Regions from separate parts of the Homo sapiens genome. Here all the other regions are linked to region 2. Evidence: promoter capture Hi-C in human tissues and cell types (Jung and others, 2019). All regions are on one chromosome and are shown on one strand. Each heading gives the region's core, a stretch centred on a gene start or on the middle of the fragment in contact. The rest is flanking DNA. Distances are from core to core; before and after follow the strand shown.

The links. The method cuts DNA at HindIII sites, captures the fragments that hold promoters and counts their contacts. A contact is called where the count stands out against the background at its distance.
Region 1: a fragment that was not itself captured here is called in contact with the fragment with the promoter of SF3B5 in region 2 in 2 of the 25 tissues and cell types used here (H1 embryonic stem cells and aorta).
Region 3: a contact is called between a fragment that was not itself captured here and the fragment with the promoter of SF3B5 in region 2, in 1 of the 25 tissues and cell types used here (spleen).
Region 4: a fragment that was not itself captured here is called in contact with the fragment with the promoter of SF3B5 in region 2 in 1 of the 25 tissues and cell types used here (heart right ventricle).
Region 5: a contact is called between a fragment that was not itself captured here and the fragment with the promoter of SF3B5 in region 2, in 2 of the 25 tissues and cell types used here (mesenchymal stem cells and spleen).

The regions. Positions count from the first base shown.
Region 1 is chr6:144,436,005-144,438,704 of GRCh38, forward strand. It overlaps UTRN (utrophin), which reads left to right. Exons shown (of 75, transcript NM_007124.3): 10 at 1-134; 11 at 1,561-1,742. Among named protein-coding and RNA genes, the nearest start is that of SNORA98, 32 kb to the left of the region's middle. The HindIII fragment of the contact is 5,247 bases long and covers 1-2,700 here.
Region 2 is chr6:144,094,138-144,096,837 of GRCh38, forward strand. It overlaps SF3B5 (splicing factor 3b subunit 5), which reads right to left and starts at 1,436. Exons shown (of 1, transcript NM_031287.3): 1 at 747-1,436. The coding sequence starts at 1,360. The coding sequence ends at 1,100. RefSeq lists an enhancer at 1,186-1,885. The HindIII fragment of the contact is 26,090 bases long and covers 1-2,700 here.
Region 3 is chr6:144,455,821-144,458,520 of GRCh38, forward strand. The region is part of intron 19 of UTRN (utrophin); the gene reads left to right. Among named protein-coding and RNA genes, the nearest start is that of SNORA98, 52 kb to the left of the region's middle. The HindIII fragment of the contact is 6,411 bases long and covers 1-2,700 here.
Region 4 is chr6:144,361,201-144,363,900 of GRCh38, forward strand. All of the region lies in intron 2 of UTRN (utrophin), which reads left to right. Among named protein-coding and RNA genes, the nearest start is that of SNORA98, 43 kb to the right of the region's middle. The HindIII fragment of the contact is 8,226 bases long and covers 1-2,700 here.
Region 5 is chr6:144,507,735-144,510,434 of GRCh38, forward strand. All of the region lies in intron 34 of UTRN (utrophin), which reads left to right. Among named protein-coding and RNA genes, the nearest start is that of SNORA98, 100 kb to the left of the region's middle. The HindIII fragment of the contact is 4,170 bases long and covers 1-2,700 here.

The sequences.
Region 1 (2,700 bases), core at 33-2,532, 340 kb after region 2:
TGGATCTGGACAGCTATCAGATTGCGTTGGAGGAAGTGCTGACCTGGTTGCTTTCTGCTGAGGACACTTTCCAGGAGCAGGATGATATTTCTGATGATGTTGAAGAAGTCAAAGACCAGTTTGCAACCCATGAAGTAAATATCTGTAGTTTCTTAGCAGGGTGTGTCCCCCACGGGACCTGAGCCTTAATCAGGGACTCTACTCTCCTATTTGTTATCTACTGAATTCTGTTCTTTGGAAAGGTCAATGGTTTATTTCAGGAACTGTGATATTTAAATAGTGCTTTGTCACAAAATTGGTATGGGTGATTAAACTGTGCCTCAGAATTAGATTTTAGATTTTAGTCTCCTTGTGTGTTTTGGAGAGCCACTGATGAAAATCATTGCATAGTACTGCTCAGTTCTGAAGTGCATTGTTATATTTCAAAAGCAAACGAGTGAACCAATACACCAAATCTTTAAGATTTGAGTGTTCCCTAGGAAATGATTATTCTTTTTAATTGCATGATTAAGCAAATGTCATACCCAGGGTTCCTGTATTTTTTCATATCATAAAAGTTTCCTGCTCCTTTGAGGACATACTATATTGCAGCATAGTGAATTTCACTATATGGAGATTTCTTTTGGTTAAATTTTTCTTTTGTATAGTTATGTGAATTGACAGATCTTATTTGTTGTTTTGGATAGAAAATAATATAAGTGGTAATATCTCTTAAACAGTTCCTCTTGGGTGAGTATGGTATTTTATTTTATATATATATTTATATATATAATAAATAAATATATATTTATATATAAATATATATAAATAAAAATAAATATATATTTTATTTTATATATAAATAAAATATATAAATAAATATATATAAATAAAATATATAAATATTTTTATATATAATCTATTTATATATTATATATGTATATGTATATGTGTGTGTATATATATATATTTATAATTTTTTTTTTTTTAACAGAGTCTTACTCTGTCACCCAGGCTGGAGTGCAGTGGCACAATCTTGGCTCACTGCAACTTCTACCTCCTGGCTTCAAGTGATTCTCCTGCATCAGCCTCCCAAGTAGCTGGGACTGCAAACATGTGCCACCACGCCCGGCTAATTTTTTGTGTTTTTAGTTAGAGACGGGGTTTCACCTTGTTGTCCAGGCTGGTCTTGAACTCCTGGCCTAGGTGATCCACCTGCCTCAGCCTCCCAAAATGCTGGGATTATAGGTGTGAGCCACCACACCCAGCCTTTTATTTTATTTATTTAGAATTCCATGTTCATGATCTATGAGTAGCATAGTCAGCATTTACTTTAAAATAGCTGGTATTATCAGATGCATCATTGCTTGCTTTGAGCTATTTCTCTTTTAACTTATGGCAGGTGTTTATTCCTATTTTCAGAGATTAAAAAATGTGGTCAATGTCTATTTTATTTGCGCTCTACTAGGCTACCTTTTTCTGCATCACTGACATTTAGGTTAGGCATTAGCAATTTGTTCAGTCTTCCTTTTTTTTTTTTGCACTGAGTAGCTCACAAATTATAACAATGTCCCTTTCTAGGCTTTTATGATGGAACTGACTGCACACCAGAGCAGTGTGGGCAGCGTCCTGCAGGCAGGCAACCAACTGATAACACAAGGAACTCTGTCAGACGAAGAAGAATTTGAGATTCAGGAACAGATGACCCTGCTGAATGCTAGATGGGAGGCTCTTAGGGTGGAGAGTATGGACAGACAGTCCCGGTGAGTGGAAAGCCAAGAAATGCACTTAATTCCACAGGCTGCTTTGCACAGTTGAGCTCTAGTAGATGTCTGCATGTCTGTGAAAGCGAGATGATTACAGAACTTGCCTTGGAAAAGTAAGACTCTTTTCTACGGGTAATATTGCTGGAATTCTGCATGATCTTTGTTTCCCCTTTGATGTGTTAGCCACACCAAAAGATAAAAGTTGGAATACAGAATTTAACAAAAAGGAAAAAGAGGATAGGCATGGTGGCTCATGCCTGTAATCCCAGCACTTGGGAGGCCAACGCGGATGGATCACTTGAGGCCAGGAGTTTGAGACCAGCCTGGGCGACATGGCGAAACTCCGTCTCTACTAAAAATACAAAAATTAGCTGGGCATGGTGGGCCATGCCTGTAATCCTAGCTACTTGGGAGGTTGAGGTATGAGGATCGCTTGAACTCAGGAGACAGAGATTGCAGTGAGCTGAGATTCAGCCACTGCACTCCAGCCTGGGTAACAAAGTGAGACTGTCTCCAAAAAAAGGAAAAGACATTTCATAGGGGCAGTTACTTATTTGCAATGTTAAGATTAGCTAAACATTAACTTGGTGTGAAGACAGGACTATGGAGTATTGATCTACTTTTCCATTTTGTGACTTTTATTTTAAAGCTTTCTCATGGTTTATTTTATTTCATGTATTGTGTCTTAAGGAGCAAACTGCATTCATTGCCACTTCCACCTATTTAATAAGCAGGAATTCCTGATTGAAGAAACAATGATTCTGATATGAATACAGGGTGCTGCTTTTTGCATTCTTTGTCTGCATTTAATGAACTCCATTTAGGACAAAATAAAAGTTTACTTTCCTGGCTTCTATATTTAAAGACTAAATGCTACCTTGAATGTTTAGACAAGGGTGTCTTCCCTTGCCCTGTATCTCCGGTGCCCAGAATGTATATTTGACTTTGCAAAGGG
Region 2 (2,700 bases), core at 186-2,685:
CTCCAGCCATGCTTGCCTCTTTGAAGTTCCTCCAATAAACCATACATACTCCCAGCGTTAGTACCATTGCACTGGCAGTTCCCTCTTCATGGAAAGCAATTTCTCCAGTTTTCCGCATGGCCATTTCCCTCATTTTCCTGAAGTCTTTGCTCAAATGTCACCATCTCAGTAACTTGTGCATCATATTTAAGATTACAGCCCTACCAGCTACTCCCACCCGCACCACATACATTGTTCTCCCCTCCCCGCAGCATCTTCTAACATTTGCTTATTACATCTAGTGTTTGACCTCCTTTCTCCACCACCAGCATAATGTAAGCCCCAAGAACACGGGAAAATGCCTGTCACATAGAGCTCAACAAATATTTGTTGAATGTAGAATGGATGAACTCGCTTGCCAGCTTGTCATTTCTGGAGACATGGCCACAAATTCCCAAGAAAAAAAAAAGGATGCATTTTAAAGAGGCTAGGGAGGACAATGACAGCAAAGACTGCAAAGAGTTTTAAAACAGGAGAAAAAGAAGATGGGATACAATAACCACAAATTTCAATACTGAAGGCATTGTGGGCCTGAAAATAACGCTCTTGGGAAAAGTGGCAGTCGGGGAATTAATTATAAAGGTAGACACGGCGGATCTAAGTGCCTGGCCATGGACACTGGCATGCGCTCCCTCACCCAAACCCACTTCCCGCTCAGCTCTTTCCGGAGCCTTCCACCCTAACACAGAAAGTTCACACCAAGAGACTGAACGATTTCTAAACTTTATGGAAAAAGCCAATGACAATCAATTAGCCAAAAACGAGACGCCAAATCCCATCTCACTCCAGCGCCATGCCCTCTTCTCAAACGCTCGCCGGCTCTAGGACCTCTCCACCAGCACAGTTCTCAGGAGTCCTGCTGGTCTCCCAGTGCTGTTCTAAGGGTCCACATGAAGGCAGGTCAGGCGGGACTCCCCGGGCAAGCACTTCTGTACGCGGAAAGCACGAGGCGCAGGAGCCATGGAGAGCCGGTCCTTTGGAGACAGGAATACTTAAGAGGATTGGCAAACCGGAGAAACGCTGGGAGAGGTGCCCCGCACTGCGGTGGTAAGGCAGAGTCTCAGTTCTCCTCGGGCTTGTCGGCTGGCGGTCCACAAGGCTGAAGCATCTTTTCCATCAAGTTGAAGCGGACTCGCGCTTTGCTCTCATTCTCCGCAATGGCGAAGTAGTTGAGAAGGTCGAAGTGGCCCATGTAGGAGCAGTACGAGTCGCGGTGTTGGTTCACCAGCCACTCCCACTTGGTGGTGTCGGCGTGGCCCGTGCCGATGTACTTGGACTGCAGGTGCTCCAGCTGGCTATGGATGGTGTAGCGGTCAGTCATCTCGCCGCTTTCCCCTTCGCTCTCAGGTCAGAGGACGCAGGTAACAACTCGCCGCTCTAGCGTTTTACAGGAGAGTGAAGCCACCGCGCGGAAGCTCCAGGTCCGCGCCGTCGCAGAAGAATGGCGTCACAACGACTAAGTAGCGTAACTCTCGCTCATAGGGCTCAGAGGCGGAAGCGGAAGCACATTCTGTCACGCAATTGGAGTTGCTGAGGCGACGCAACAAGTGTGCCTCCCCCCTCCATGGAGATCCCCGCCCCATCAGAGAATGTTGCATGATGGTCCACTTAGTGGCTAAGGGAGGCCCTTTTCCAACAAGGAGCGTTGCATGCTGGGACTTGTGGTCTTGGGAGTTCGTGCACGCAGGCTTCCGGGACTCCTGGTCGCGTTCTGTTGTTTGTTTGTTTGTTTGTTTAAGACGGAGTCTTGCACTGTTGCCCGGGCTGCAATGCAATGGCGCGATCTCGGCTCACTGCAACCTCCGCCTCCTGGGTTCACGCGATTCTCCTGCTTCAGCCTCCCGAGTAGCTGGGATGACAGTTGCACACCACCACGCCCGGCTAGTTTTTTTGTATTTTTAGTAAAGACGGGGTTTCACTGGTCTCGAACCCCTGACCTCGTGATCCGCCCGCCTCGGACTCCCAAAGTGCTGGGATTACAGGCGTGAGCCACCGCGCCCGGCCCCTGGTCGCGTTTTAAAAGTGATCTGGGGACCTAGTGGAGGGCGATGTCTGGAGGTGGGGAGCATCCGTGGGTGGCTTGGGGCTGATAGGAAATGGGAAACCCAAGAATGACTGGACTACGAGCAGCCCCGAAAATAAACTCTTGGTGTATTTCGGAGCCGTCGTGGCGGCACGGCCGTCCCTTCACAACCGGGGATGGATTACCCAGAAGTCAGCAGGCGCCAGTTCTGGTCCCAACTATGTCTCTTAGGAGTTTGTGGCATAAAAGAGTTATTTCAGCTCTAACCAGGGTGCTTGGTGAGCAAGTACAGCACCAGTTCCCACACATTCCGGCTTCCACCTCAAGCTCCTCCTTCCTCTCTAGCCACTTATTTTGATATCCTCCCTCCAAGGCCTCACCTCACCCTACTTGGCTCTTCCATTCAGTGGGTTTTGTGGATTCAACCAACCTGATTGAAAATATTGGGGGAAAATATCAGTCTGTACCGAAATGCAGACTTTTTAAGGTTATTATTCCCTAAACAATACAGTATAACAACTATTTACATAGCATTTACATTGTATTAGGTATGTTAAATAATCTAGAGACAAACTATACAGGAGGATGTGCGTATATGCAAATACAAGCCGTTTTATATCAGGGACTTGAGCATCCTC
Region 3 (2,700 bases), core at 143-2,642, 360 kb after region 2:
AGCTGACTATAGGCTTTGGTCCATAAAATTCTACCATAAATGGGTCCTAAATAGACACATTCTGGACATTGAGTTCACATGAAAGTGCTACTTGCAAAAGGCCAAAGGCAACACTGGAGAATAGTTGACATGGGGCTTTTGTCACCTAATGTATACTTGCCCAATTTCATAGGAAACCTTTTATAGTTTGTATTATCATGTTTTTTCAAGCATTGGTGGAATTAGAAATGCATTCATTAGAGGACCCTAATTCTTTTTTGTTTTAAAGATGCATCTATTAAAAAATTTTTTTTAGGACAACAGTGGGAAGCTGAGAAATGGGGGAGCTGAACTGGATAAAGTCTGTGTGTTCCAGTTCAGTTAGGGAGGCATGTCAAATTCTTCAGTAAAACCCATATTTGAATAATCACGTCACTGTTTTTCTGAAACCAGTTCCATCAAAAAGCCCACCATAGCCAATTCTGATAGGTCTTTCCTGCCTAATGCATTTTACATAAGTTTTGAGGTATCTCATAGAGCATAGAAACAATTTTAGAAAATAAAATAGCGTGAGGCTGGGCGCAGTGGCTCACACCTGTAATCCCAGAACTTTGGGAGGCCGAGGTGGGTGGGTCACGAGGTCAGGAGATCAACACCATCCTGGGCAACATGGTGAAACCTCGTCTCTACTAAAAATACAAAAATTAGCTGGGCATGGTGGCACATGCCTGTAATCTCAGTTACTCAGGAGGCTGAGGCAGGAGAATCGCTTGAACCAGGGAGTCGGAGGTTGCAGTGAGCTGAGATTGCACCACTACACTCCAGCCTGGTGACAGAGCAAGACTCTGTCTCAAAATAATAATAATAATAATAATAATAATAATAATAATAATAATAAATAAAATAGTGTGTTTCATTTGACTTTCATAGCTGATATACTTGGTTTTCTTCGTTTAGCTTATCTTGTTCCTAGAGCTCTTCATCTAGTAAAATACAGTAGAGTAGTTGGGCATCTGGATAATGTGGCTTTATGAATCAATGCCCATTGTGGTTGCCTAAGCATATAAGCCCAGGAAGTTTGGTGAAGGTCCTATGTTTTGTAAACGTTTCCCTTGATTCCAATAGTGATAGACTGAGAAGTGTAAAGTCAAGTGAGACTGAGTGGCAGGAATGTGTTCTATGTTCTCCCTTTTAGACAATTAATAAAGTGATCTTCTGTTGATTTTGCCTTTTGACTAGTCACCTTCTAAGAACTCTGTGTTTTATAGAAATAGAAAATTTTAAACTCTGGATCTCTGGGAGTAAAACAACTATTTTTAAAGACAATGTGCAGTTTTCCTTTTATAAGATGTAAATTGTGTTTGAATCATTACCGGGCATCACTGTAACCAGCAATATCTCAGGATTAGAGAAAGGGAGATTCAGATGTTTAAAATTGGTTTAAAGAGGCAAAATGAATGGCTTGTAAGACATTGTCAGTGAAAAAATAACTGAAGTTGTTTTAACCGCCCTTGTTCTTGAAGTGAGCACCTCTTTCCAGTTTTCTAGATGAGTAGTGGTAATTTTCCATCTCAGAAATTTTATTTACCTACTTAATTTTCTTCCTTGATTAGTATGAATTGTCCAACATAAAGATGATGTGGCTGGTGTTACTATTCCTTTGCCTGCCTAGAATAGAAATGATGGGGCAGGGGCATGACCCATATCTCCATTGTTCATATTGTTAGGAAAATGGTGATTTGTTTTGTATACTCTCCCCATTAACAGGGGTAATGCAGCATGGCTTGTGGTGTGAATGCTTTGCTTATGTCTCATATTCTCTTACCTGAGAGATGGTGGTGAACAGTGAACTTCTGCAATTGACATAGGTGACACATTCAAATGACAGCATGATATGCCCTCATTTATGATTTTCAGTAGACACAGTGTATTATAAAAATTTTCAAAGTTGCATTGTCTGTGGATCATACATGACTTTTTGTTTTTATGCCTTTGTTTTTTAGTTCAAGCTCTCATTATCCTGGATTTTGATCATATATGTTTATAAAGCAGGATTGTTTTATTGCTTTCCTACTCAATAAAAATGTGAAGCCATCCTTTTGGTATGCATGTTTTCCTCCGAATAGAAAGATTCCTTTGAAGATTTCCCATACTTTTTCATAGTCATTTTAGAGGATTTGAAGGTATTTTAGATTAAGGGAAGGACTATGATAAAACCTATTATTATATATGACTTTATTATTTTTAGGAACATTCTCTACTTTTCAAAAATATCGGACAAATAAAATGATAAGATTTCAGTAATAAAAATGGTGGCATTGTTTTCCCTGATGTGTTTCTAAAGTAGATCATCTTATTGCTGCCTCAGTCTTTTGGTATTTGCTTATTTATGTGCAAGGTCTCCAGTGGGCTTGCTGATGCTTCTAGAGCCTGGCTGCTGGCTTAATATTCCTGCACTCACCAGGTTGCTTCCCAGCATAAGGCATCCTCGCCATTCATTTTTTAATTTATATGACACTGTGCTTTGGTCACCAAGACCTGAGCTGCCTCCTAGTTTTTCTAGCCAGCTTTCTTTTTTTCTTAGGACAAAGGGTCTTCTTTCTGAAGTCGGGCCTAGACAGATCAAGGTAGTTGATCTTATTTCACTGGTTCAGGTGATAAACTAGCAGAGTAGAAGCATGGCATGGATGGAAACATATATTATCTAGAAAAGGCAGTGGC
Region 4 (2,700 bases), core at 149-2,648, 270 kb after region 2:
ACTTTCCACCCACTTTCTTTACACCATAGTTTGACTCAGGGGCTTGCTGGATTTCAGAAAGACTAGCTTGTAGTTTGTGGCTAAAAAGACTGGCTGATGTTAGGAAGGGGGAGAAACACCTTATGTGTTGCTCTACTAATTTTGTCCTTGATTTTGAGCTAATTATTAATGCTCCAGGGAAAAATTTTAGCTTGGCAGGCAGGGAAATATTAGTTTCAATTGTGAGCTTAATCCAGAGGGCTATGTTTGAGTTAAAACCATCCAGGAGTCTTCCAGGGAAGTCCAGAATCTTCCAGGGAAGACCAGGTGGATCTATTTCTGGATGCTAAAAGGGGCATTGCGGGGCTGATAAGGAAATAAGTCCCTTGTTCTTTAAAAAAAAATTATTTATTTATTTATCTTTTTTAGAGACAGTGTCTCACTCTGTTACCCAGGCTGGAGTGCAATGGCATGACCATGGCTCATGCAGCCTCAACCTTCTGGGTTCAAGTGATCCTCCCTCCTCAGTTTCCCAAGTAGCTGGGACCACAGGTGTCTGAAACCACACCTGGCTAATTTTCTTTCTTTCTTTCTTTTTTTTTTTTTTGTAGAGATGGGGTCTCGCTATGTTGCCCAGGCTGGTCTTGAACTCCTGGGCTTAAGTGATCCTCCTACTTTGGTCTCCTAAAAGTGCTGAGATTACAGATGTGAGACACCTCACCCAGCCAGAACTGCCTGTTTCATTAGAGAGACACAAGTCAATTCCTGGAATTTTTTTTTCCTTTTTGCTGCCACTTTCTTACTTAAAAGAATAAAAATCAAAGCCAAATTCATCATAGTAATCATAATAATGGCAACAACAACAAAAAAAGGAGTAAAATAGAGTTGTGAATGTTTGCTTTGTTATTAAACATATCAACTCATTGGAGCTGATTTATATAAAGTTAAATCCTGCTAGAATAGCTGGATTCCTTCCTACATGGGTGGGGTGGGAATGCTGAGATCCTGGTGTGGGCATTCCATGCCAGGGTAGAAATTTCCTGCTCAGGCACTTAGTGAAGGAGCCAACTGAGGGAGGATAGGTGATGTGCCCGCCCATCCGGTGGCACCCAGTGACCTGTGCACACCACCCCCCATCTGCCCAGGACCCAGCCATGTTGTTCATTGTACCCTTTTCAGACTGCTGACCTCCAGGAGCACTTGTCTTAAAGTCACATAGCTGTATTTTTCCTCTCCAGAAAAATTTTGAATGTATTTTCTAAATAGCTGAGGTCATTGCATGGTCTTCAGTGAACTTAGCTACAAGTGAATGTGACCTGGAGTGACCCAGAGTGAGTGCTGGCCAGCATAGGTTTCACATTTTCTGTGTGAAAGTTCTTCTTTTGTTGTTTGTGATTAATAACTGGATGGGATATAAAGCCAAATGATTTCATTGTTGAACACAGACTTGAAGGTCATGAGAAACTGCCTGTTCAAATTACACTTTGCCAAGACATGGAAAAAGGTCTGCATCAACACCTGAATAGTTTTAGAAATACGGTAGAGAAGGAAAAAAATGACATGCCACTTGTTATGTGATGTGAAAGTTGATTTCCACGCGATGCAATATCTTGGGTCCTTACAACATCTGACCTATGAGGCTGATGAGTTTGCACTGAGTCAGGACTTTAAAACAAAGGTGTATTGAGGACCTACTGTGTGCCAGGTCATTTAGAATGAGTTTTTATGCTAAGTAATGTGTTATATTTATGCTTATTTTGTTAAGTGCTCAGTTTCTCTTAGGTTTTGTATTATGTGGGTTTGCTATTTTTTAAAAAAATATTTTTAATTTTTTGGGTATGGTTTGCTATTTGAAATATGATTTTGAATAAGTTTCTCAGTACATAGCACTTTTAATTTTATGTTTTTAAAAGATTTTTTAATGGTTATACATAATAATTGATGGACACACAATAGTATTTAAATCTAAAAATAGAGAAACCATGGCACACAAAACACAGTATCTTACAGAACTGTATTATTTGCTTCTTTTCTATGTGTTTTCTAGGCTTTTGAGTCAGATGTTAGGAAAGAGTCTGTCCATCTTTAATTTTCTCACTTCGAGAAGCACTGAAATATTTCTATACATATGTCCATTGGTATAGCGACCTAACACAACTTTAAAATCATTTTGAAATTGACGCACAGAGAGCTTGGTTTTCCAGAACTGGTGAGGTGTAAGATGGTTGAGGACTGACTTGGCCTGGTCGGACCTGTTTCTTTGTAGCATTATTACTATTTGTTTATTTTCCACCTGGGCCTTACATCTTCCCTCTCAAGACAGCGTCTAGGTCCCAACTCAGTTGGTAGGAATTTGTGCAGTAGCAAACCTGCAGATGGGCAGAGATACAAACTCACTCAACTCACATTACAGTCTTTCCCTGTCTAAAACAAACAAGAAAACAAAACAAAAAAGGGAGAGATCATATAGGCGTGTATATATACAATATTTTGTTATAGATAAGGAACAAAGTACCATATGAATTCAAAAGGTGAGGGTGGGATGGGTTTAGAGCTGGGAGAGAAACCATCTAAAGCCTTCATGAAAGGGGGTACCATTTGCTGTGGATACTGATGGCAATGTTGGGGCTGGAGGAAAATGTTCCAGGTAGAGGGCACAGAATTAATAGGGGGTAGCTATAAAAAGCATGCTGAATACCATGCTAGGTAGGCATTTAGCCC
Region 5 (2,700 bases), core at 180-2,679, 410 kb after region 2:
CAGGGGTCAGGGACCCACTTGAGGAGGCAATCTGTCCCTTAGCAGAGTTCGAGCTCTGTGCTGGGAGATCCGCTGCTCTCTTCAGAGCCAGCAGGCAGGAACATTTAAGTCTGCTGAAGCTTTGCTCACAGCTGCCCTTTCCCCCAGGTGCTCTGTCCCAGGCAGATGGGAGTTTTCTCTATAAGCCCCTTGCTGGGGCTGCCACCCTTCTTTCAGAGATCAGACAGTCTGGCTACAGTTGCTTTTCTGAGCTGTGGTGGGTTCTGCCCAGTTTGAACTTCCTGGAGGCTTTGTTTACACTGTGAGGGGAAAACTGCCTACTCAAGCCTCAGTAATGGTGGATGCCCCTCTCACCACCAAGCTCCAGCATTCCAGGTCGACTTCAGACTGCTGTCCTGGCAGCGAGAATTTCCAGCCGTTGGATCTTAGCTTGCCGGGCTCCATGGGGATGGGATCTGCTGAGCTAGACCACTTGGCTCCCTGGCTTCAGTCCCCTTTCCAGGGGAGTGAATGGTTCTGTCTTGCTGGTGTTCCAGGCACCACTGGGGTGTGAAAAAAAACAAACAAACAACTCCTGCAGCTAGCTTGGTGTCTCCCCAATCGGCTGCCCAGTTTAGTGCTTGAAACCCAGGGCCCTGGTGATGTAGGCACCTGAGGGAATCTCCGGGTCTGTAGGTTGTGAAGGCCTTGAGAAAAGTGTAGTATCTTGGCTGGATAGCACCGTACCTCACGGCACAGTCCCTCATGGCTTCCCTTGGCTAGGGGAGGGAGTTCCCCAACCTCTTGCGCTTCCCTGGTGAAGCGACACCCTCCGTGGGCTGCACCCACTGTCTAACCAGTTCCAGTGAGATGAACCAAGTACCTCTGTTGGAAATGCAGAAATCACCTGCATTCTGTTTTGGTCTTGCTGGGAGCTGCAGACTGGAGCTGTTCCTGTTTGGCCATCTTGCCAGCCACCTCCTCTGCTAGCTCTTTTATAGTTTCATCTTTTTACCTTTAATGCATTAATCTTTCCAGTATTTATTTTGGTGTATTTCGTGAGGTAAGGCTCTAACCTTCTTTCCAAAAGGATAACCAATTATCTTAGTGCTATTGGTTGAGTAATTAACCTTGTCCCCATGGATTTGACATGCTAAGTTCATATATTCTTATTTTCCTGTTGCCTTTCGTTGTTTTCTGCTCCACTGATCTGGCCCCATGAAATGTACCAGTTTTTAGAATGTTTAGCCATGTTTTATAGTATATTTTAACTGCAGTTAATGGGTTCCCTCTCTTTATGCTTCATTTTTGGTATATATCTTATATGAACTTTAGAATTTTTATTGTTAAATTCTTAAATTCTATTGGAAATTTTGATTTGAATTGCCTTGAATTCATACATTTGTGTAGTGCAGAATTGATATCTTTGTTATATTAATTCTATTCGGTAACATATATGTCTCATTTTTGTCCTAAATTCTTTCACATTCCTACATAATGTTTTGATTTTTTTCTTTATAAACATTATTCATATATGCACAGGAGTTTATTCCTACATATCTATTTTTATTGCTATGTAAAAATATACTTTTCGGTTTTTTTACAGAGTGCTTATTGTTGGTACATAGGTGATATTGATTTTATATATTCAATTTTTAAACATCCATGTTCATATACTCATAAATTCAATTTGTTTTTCAGCTGATTCTCATAGCTTTTTTAGGTAAAGACTCAAAGCAATGAAAAATTTGTTTCTTTTGGAACAATATGCTCTTAAGTTTCCATTTAATCTTATTTCAGAATTGAAATGATAAAGATGATATATACAAGTCACAAATTCACAGCACATTCTCTTCATTAGAGTAAATCAAATGAAACATCAGTATATATTAATAACCACCATCTTTTTATCACTGTCTTTTCAGATTTAAGGAACATGCAGATTTCACCACATTTTAATGTATTTGCACTTAAAGATTATGTAAAATTATTTTCAATGCAAAGCTTAAATAAATAATATTTTCATTTCTGAATACTGTTTTTATTCCATAACTTAAATATAACTATTTTCAATGTAATCTTTTTTACTGTAAAAAAGTATGTGTACTATTTAGATGTAATTACTTGTAGTTCATTATTTTTTATAGTTCTTAAATGCTATTCTAGTCAATCAGTACATGCCCACTGAAGAAATGAAAGATTCTTATTAATAATTGCTGAGAGCATAGCTATTGGGTATCCTTTATTTTCTCCCCCCTTGCTAGAGAATAATATTGGAAAGTAGTATTTCAGTTCTGTCATAAATATGCCAGTAATTGACATGGCCAAGTGAGTGTTTAAACCTGGACTCATTTGTGAATTTGTAATTGGTATGCTTTCCAAGGTGTGATTTAATGTAGAAATATAAACTTGAGCTCCTTAAAATGATTGGTTTAAATGTTGATTTAAAAAATGGTCAATAATAGTAGCAGTAGGGTAGATACATGCATATTGCTTTTTGATTGAAAGAGCTTTGTAGTTTTAATTGTGGAACTCATGCTCTCTCTATAATTCTGTGACTATATACTTTGCCTGGTGAAACTTACGAATGTGCCGATCACTTTATCATCATACCATCCAGAGTATTATCTTTGCACTTATGACAGTTGTAAGACCAAAGCTTAGACTTGCTGCTCTCTTGTGAGTTACTTACATGAAATGTTTTTTTGTAATGTTTATTCA